2 separate regions of the Homo sapiens genome follow, and region 1 is linked to region 2. Evidence: promoter capture Hi-C in 16 types of primary human blood cells and fetal thymus (Javierre and others, 2016). All regions are on one chromosome and are shown on one strand. The core of a region is centred on a gene start or on the middle of the fragment in contact, and the rest is flanking DNA. Distances in the headings are between cores, read along the strand shown.

Region 1 (3,625 bases), core at 1-2,500, 1.1 Mb before region 2:
TTTCCGAGGCTTATCCATTGAAAATTTTCCTTGGATAGGAAAGGTTTGGAGGACCTTATGGGTAGAGAATTTCCAAAAATCTTGCCCCTTTTGTGTTGGGATTATCTTATTGCTTTGTACTGTGTAGCTGTTTCTTTCTGGAGGCATGTCTGCCCAGCTCTTTGTTTTTCCTGCCCTCTGGCTGGGTGTCAGGGTCCTAAGGCAGAGCTTGTAGGTGGATTCTTCCCCCTTTGTCTCTTCTTCAGAACCCTGTTTTTTTTTTTTTTACCCCTTCTTGCTCAGGCTTAGTTGATTTGGAGTTGTCATAGCAACATTTTAGCAACAGTGTTGTTCTGCAGGAAGGCTTGATGAATAAAATAGAGAATGCTTGAAGAGGATCCACTTGGGCTTTAGGGTTTCTAACAGATTATATAAATCTGGATACCCCAAAACAAGAGTCCTGTCAGTAGAATGGGGCCCAAATGCCAAGTCTAGTCTTTGTGGTCAGGGATATTCTTCCAGTGGTAGTGGGCTTCAGATTTCCTCTTCCTAGGTTTGAAAACAGAAATGTCTTGATGGACAACATGTGGCTGAGAAACTGGAAGAAGCATCAGTGTCCATGACACTGTATTTTTTGATGGTGGGGCCAATACATGGCCCTTCCTGATTCCCATGAAGCTGCCATCATGGCAGGTCATAATAGCTTTAATGATCCATTTAGAGATGTGTTGTTGGCTGGGTGCGGTGGCTCATGCCTGTAATCCAAGCACTTTGGGAGGCCGAGGCAGGCGGATCACCTGAGGTCAGGAGTTCCAGACCAGCCTGGCCAATATGGTAAAACCCCATCTCTACTGAAAATACAAAAATTAGCTGGGCGTGGTGGTGGGCACCTATAATCCCAGCTATTCAGGAGGCTGAGGCAGGAGAATCACTTGAACCCAGGAGATGGAGGTTGTAAGCCGAGATTGTGCCACTGCACTCCAGCCTGGGTGACAGAGCAAGATTCTGTCTCAGAAAAAAAAAAAAAAAAAAGAAAGAAATGTGTTGTTTCGGCCAGGTGCAGTGGCTCACACCTGTAATCCCAGCACTTTGGGAGGCTGCCGAGGTGGACAGATCATGCTCTCAGGAGTTCGAGACCAGCCGGGCCAACATGGTGAAACCCCGTCTCTACTAAAAATACAAAAATTAGCCAGGCGTGGTGGTGTGCACCTGTAATCCCAGCTACTCCGGAGGCTGAGGCAGGAGAATCACTTGAACCTGGGAGGCAGAGGTTGCAGTGAGCTGAGATCGCGCCACTGCACTCCAGCCTGGGTGACAGAGAGAGACTCTGTCTCAAAAAAAAAAAAAAAAAAAAAGTGTTGTTTCTGTCTTCCAGTATAATTATCCACTCTCCACCAGGAGTTGGAGTGATAATGGAGGGATGGGGAACACTATTTGTAGCCTTGCTTTTTCAATCACTGTAGGCCAGTCCTCAACATCAGTATGGTGGAGGCTGATTGTCCCCTGCAGATGACTGGGTTATTTTCCTGGCTATGTGTTCATGGAACCTAAGTTCTAGAACCAGAGATACTGTTCTGTTTCCTAAACTCATTGCAAACTTCATGATTTCTACCAGGACTTAGCACTCAGGCCTGTGAATCAGGAGATACAAAGACCTCCAAAAAAGGACCAGTTCCTCGGATGTGCCCCCTCACAGAGAGATGAAGGGGTGAGTGAAGAAGAGGTAGGGTCTGGGATGAAAGATGGGTGGCCTGGAAGAATGCAAAATGACCAAGAGCACTGCCTCTGGAGTCAGGCAGACCTGGATTCAGGTTCTACTCTATCACTTACTGTGTGATTTGGTTTCTCTATCTATAAAATGGAAGTAGTGCTATCTATCTCGTGGTGCTGTTTTTAGTACTAAATAAGATTACATGTAATGTACTTAGCTTAGTGCTTATGTACATAGTAAACAGTAAACACTAGTTGTTATTCTAACCTAACCCAGCTTCTGTTGGGAATGCCAATGAGTTTGCAGCCATATGTTACTGGGCCAGTGAGCTTCTCATTGACTTCTTCTCATACTCTTCCTTTTGTCCTTTCACCACAAACAGGCAGCAGAAAACAGCTGAAACGGAAGAGGGGACAGTGCAGATTCAGGAAGGTGAGTGCTAGAAACAGAACCAAGACTAAGAACCCATCATGGCCTCCCTTCCTTCCCCACCAGACCATCTCCTGTGCATCCTCCTCCTTCCGTGACATGCAAATGGAACGGGGGTAGAAAGGCAGTTAACTCACAGACTTTTCCTTTGTTCTTTTAATTCAGGTGCAGTGGCTACTGGGGAAGACCCAACCAGTGTGGCTATTGCCAGCATCCAGTCAGCTGCCACCTTCCCTGACCCCAACGTCAAGTACGTCTTCCGAACTGAGAATGGGGGCCAGGTAAGGGAGGGGGCCAGGTGGCTGCAGGTGTTATCTGGGGTTGGGATTGAGGGAGGTAATTGAACATGTCTTGGGGAGACCTGGCTTGGAGGATGAGTTGAAAGAGTGGACTGTTGCAGGGGAGGGAGGTGCTAATACTGGAGTAGAGACTGGTGTGAGGTTAGATGTATGCTGAAACCTCTGTGTGGGGAAAGAAGGGAGAATGGCTGAATCCATGTCTCTGAAGGACTTTGTTTTGGGGCCCTATCCAAGGGAAGCTTTATGAGGGGCCCTAGGATTCCCAACACTTAATCTTTTCTTCTCTCTTCACTCCCTCTGCCTTCCTCTACACTTCTAGGTGATGTACAGGGTGATCCAGGTGTCTGAGGGGCAGCTGGATGGCCAAACTGAGGGAACTGGCGCCATCAGTGGCTACCCTGCCACTCAATCCATGACCCAGGTACAGGGTATGGGCTGGGGAGGTCACTAGAGTTCTGAGAAGTAAGATGAAGAAGGGAATCAGTAGGATGGGGGTGAAGCTAGGAACAGTGAGGCATCTAAGGCTGCCTTGTCCCAAAGCACTAGGCTCTCCTTTTCTGGATGTTTCTCTCTCTCTCTCTCTCTCTCTCCACCCTACCTACCACCCCAACGGATAGAAGCTGCAGAGTGGTGTAGTGGGAAGAAGTTTTTGACTGTTACCAGAATCAGTTTTCTTGCTCCCCTTCCCAGGCGGTGATCCAGGGTGCTTTCACCAGTGATGATGCAGTTGACACGGAGGGGACAGCTGCTGAGACGCACTATACTTACTTCCCCAGCACGGCAGTGGGAGATGGGGCAGGGGGTACCACATCGGGGAGTACAGCTGCTGTTGTTACTACCCAGGGCTCAGAGGCACTGCTGGGGCAGGCGACCCCTCCTGGCACTGGTGAGATATTGCATGAGGATGCTGGCTGAAAGGGCTAGAATAGGCTGTGGGACATGACTGGTAGGCAGTGAGCCTTCACTCATGACTCTTAGTGATCATTAAGACCTGGACAGGCAGTGAGTCTGGGGCTGCTCTTCTATTAGCATGTTCTTTTTAGAGGAGGGGACCAGGGTCTTCACCTCAGGGCTTGGTGAGGTTCCTACCCATGTCCTGACAGAACCTACCCTGCATCTTCACAGGTCAATTCTTTGTGATGATGTCACCACAAGAAGTACTGCAGGGAGGAAGCCAGCGCTCAATTGCCCCTAGGACTCACCCTTA
Region 2 (3,331 bases), core at 159-2,658:
TTACGGAGGCCAGCTACTAAAGGCCAGCCACTGAAGTAGATACTGAGAAAATACAAAGCTCTGGAAGCACGCCTTTGCCCTTGAGGAGTTCTTTCTAGTCAGTGAGGCGGACAAAGAAATAGTTACCGTATGATAAGTTCCGTGATAAAGCTATGTGTTGGTTATTGTAGCACAAAGGAAGATGTTGCATTCAAGGCCACCTTTAGTGAACGCTAATATCGTGTGCTGGGACAAATGCCACATATTGGGGGGGAGTCCTCAGGACCCTCACAGATAGATGGTGGTAATAATAGTATTCACTATGTGCCAGGCACTGCTCTAAGCCCTATAGGTGGACTGTTTAGTTCTCTACAATTCTATGAATTAGGTAGTACTATTAGCTCTGTTCTATAGACCAGGGAACTCAAGCATAGAATGCACAACAGTCACACAGCAGGTAAAGGGTAGAGCAGGTGGGGAGCCAGTCAAGGAAGGGAAACTGTCCTAGGCAGAGGAATAGCCTTTGTAAAGGCACAGAAGAGTGAGAATGCTTGACAATCAGTGGGACTGGAATATAGGGCTGTGTAGGACTCGGGGAGGGAACAGAGAATAATAGAAAGGTTGGACAGGACTGGATATTGACATCCTGGAATCTCAGGTTCAAGGGAGGACTCTATCATGTGTGCAGAACTCCACCCCGGGGGACTCTATTCAACTGAAGCCTGAAAGGATGGGGGGCTCTTTCTCCACCCCTGAACTGTGCTGTCCTCCACCCTCAGAGACAAAAGAACCCCAGCCAGCCTCCTCGCGCTGAGGTCTCCCCCTCTGATCCCTCCAGGATTTAGGAAGAGATACCAGGTCATAGAAAAGGAGATGAAAGGCAGGGAGAAGACAGGTCTGAGCCCTGGGTCCCAACACCGAAAACACCCCTAGGGCCCTGGGCAGAGTGACCTCACTGTTAGTCCCTGCCCAGGCTTGAAGTAAGAGGTGAGCAAGATCACGTGGGGGTGCTGTCCCGGCCTGCAAGTCCCAGTCCTGTCACACACTAGTCAGTTGGGGTCGGGGGAAGGCCTTCCTGTGCCTCCTTTTACCTTGCCAGCCTCTAAACTAGGAGGCTTCTTCCTACATAAACACGCCCACAGTGTTTAGCTAACTTTCTAGGCAGAAAGTTTCCTACTGGGGCACAAGTCTACGGGCTCTCGGTGGAGGCTGAGGTACTCACGGGTGGAGACCACTGCAGCCGCCTTTGTAGATTCAGACTCCCCGAACCTTTAACCCTTGCTCTGGTCTACTGTCCCTCTGTCTCAAGCAGTCCTCCCTCCTTCTGCGCTGCGGCGCCTTTAAACCTTCTTGGCCCTTGCCCCGCCCCGGGTCCGCCCCGTCTGAGGCGGGACCCTCCTGAAAATCCCCGGCTGGGCAGGGCGCACCACTTGCAGCTGCAGCCCTTGCCTTGAGTCAGTGCGCCGCTCTCCAGCCCGCTTGAACGGTGAGCAGGTCGGGGGTACGGGGGTCGGGGACATGTGCGTGCTGTGTAGAAAGCAAGAAGCCAGCGCTTTGAACTTGCTCCAGCGAGCTCGGGGATCAAGGGCTGGTACCAGGCAAGGGTCCGGTGACTACTTTACCCCGCCCCGTGCTGTCAGGTCCTGTCCCCAAGCCCTGACCCGACATTGTTGGACGATGAGGTCAGGCGAGGTTAGCCCATGCATAGACAGGGCGTCCGTCTGGAGCAGGGACTCAGGGACTGAGCCCCACCCGCGGGCTCCATCGCTGAGTCCTCACTGGGGCGAGGGGAAAAAAGGGCGTCGGACTTTAGCTGGCTGGCCCCGAGTGACCCCGGGTCGTGGCGCCGGCCCTGGGCCAGCTCGTGCTCCTGGGCTTTCCCGCGCGACCCTTCACTTCCTGGTTCCAGGAGCACGTGTGAGCACTGCGTGCCCTCTGAGTCCCCGAGGCCGCCCTTTTCATTCCTGTTCCTGCTAGCTTGCTATTCTGGGGACTTGAGGTCACGGGCTGGGGCTAGGGGGCTCTGCATGGGTCGCACGGTGACCTTCTGTGAAGCTCCAGTCATCTCTATGACGGTCCCCTGACCTCGGGGGTCTGGGTGCTGCAGCCCTGACTGCGCCCCGGGGTGCCCTGTGTGAGGTTGTGGGGGTGGTGGTGGCTGCTTTTACCCTGCCCGAGCGCCGCTGCCCCCACCGGGTGCCCCCTGCTGCTGGGAAAGCCGGTGGTGGCCGCGGGCGGACGGGCGGGCTGCCCAGACCACTGCGTCACCCCAGCGGCGGGAGGGCGGTGGGTGACTCATCTGTTGTAACGGCCCAGGGTGTGGTCGTGGGGGTGGGGGGCGGCGGCTGGGAGGCCGGACCTGCAGGACCGGAGGTGGACTGCCGCCTCCCCCCGCGCCCTGTGCCTCCTGGGGCTACCTGAAGCCGGTGTCCTGGGAGATCTGTGAGCAGTTGGTATCTGTGGGGCAGAGAGAAACGGGGTGAGAGTGGGGATGGAGTGTGGGATTCGATGTAGAAGACCTGCGGCTGGGACGGGGCTCCCCCAGTGTTCTCATTGACTTCAAAGCACCAGACAGCAATGGCTCTCTATCTCTAGCCCCCTCCCAGTTTCTCCTCCCCACTACAAGGGGCAGACCTACAACTGCAGAGGAGGCCAAGGCAGGGCGGGCCCAGTAGGGCCCTACCATTCCAGAACCAACAAATAGGTTTTGTCCAACCGCAACTCCCTCCCTCACCCCAAGGCCTCTGCCCCTGTCCCCCACCCCGGGATTGGCCCCTAATCCTTTCTTCATTCCATCCCTTCTCCCTCCAGAATTTTCAGCTGTGGGTTCTCTAGCTCAGAACACTTTCCCTTCCCAGGGGATTTCTTCTCCTGAACAACTACTTCCTGAGTCCTCTTCTTCACCCCAACACGGGTCATTTCCTATCTTCCCCCACACGCTGTCCATCCCCACTATAGCTGTCTCCTGGAATAATCTCTTGCACCTGGCTACACCCGAGCACTGCTGAGACGATCCCACTTCTGCTCCCGTGCTCACAGCCTGCTCACCACAACGTCTGTGTTGACAGGGTGTTTCTGCCCGGAGCCCCCACCCAGCCTCCAACACTGTTTGGTACACAGAAGCCATGGCAACGGCCCCCACCTCATCCCCTCCTCCCACGCAAGCTTTGGAGCTTCCTGTTTGTGTAGCCTCAGCTTTCTCTTCTGCTCCTGACTCTCGGTGGTGAGGGGCTGCCCTACGGTGGTTCCCTTAATTGTGGGCCGCCCCCCATCCTTGCTGCTGGCTGTGGCACCTCGCTCTGTGGGCTGGTGCCCTCACTGTGCTGCTCTTTGAGAACACTCCCTGTCCCAA

What was found. Contacts are between HindIII fragments. The CHiCAGO score rates a contact against its expected background, and 5 or more counts as called.
Region 1: a fragment that was not itself captured here is called in contact with the fragment with the promoter of TAGLN2 in region 2 in 1 of 17 cell types (fetal thymus); the score reaches 5.9 in fetal thymus.

The regions. Positions count from the first base shown.
Region 1 is chr1:161,041,330-161,044,954 of GRCh38, reverse strand. It overlaps USF1 (upstream transcription factor 1), which reads left to right. Exons shown (of 11, transcript NM_007122.5): 2 at 1,595-1,687; 3 at 2,073-2,122; 4 at 2,285-2,400; 5 at 2,738-2,839; 6 at 3,109-3,304; 7 at 3,544-3,625. The coding sequence starts at 1,680. Among named protein-coding and RNA genes, the nearest start is that of USF1, 2.8 kb to the left of the region's middle. RefSeq lists enhancers at 1-178, 3,039-3,198. The HindIII fragment of the contact is 2,818 bases long and covers 1-2,659 here.
Region 2 is chr1:159,923,584-159,926,914 of GRCh38, reverse strand. TAGLN2 (transgelin 2) reads left to right here and starts at 1,408. Exons shown (of 5, transcript NM_003564.3): 1 at 1,408-1,465. It overlaps LOC124904437 (a long non-coding RNA gene), which reads right to left and starts at 3,037. Exons shown (of 2, transcript XR_007066683.1): 1 at 2,964-3,037; 2 at 1-2,436. RefSeq lists enhancers at 1,730-2,306, 1,779-2,978, 3,118-3,277, 3,288-3,331 and a silencer at 2,038-2,447. The HindIII fragment of the contact is 4,255 bases long and covers 1-3,146 here.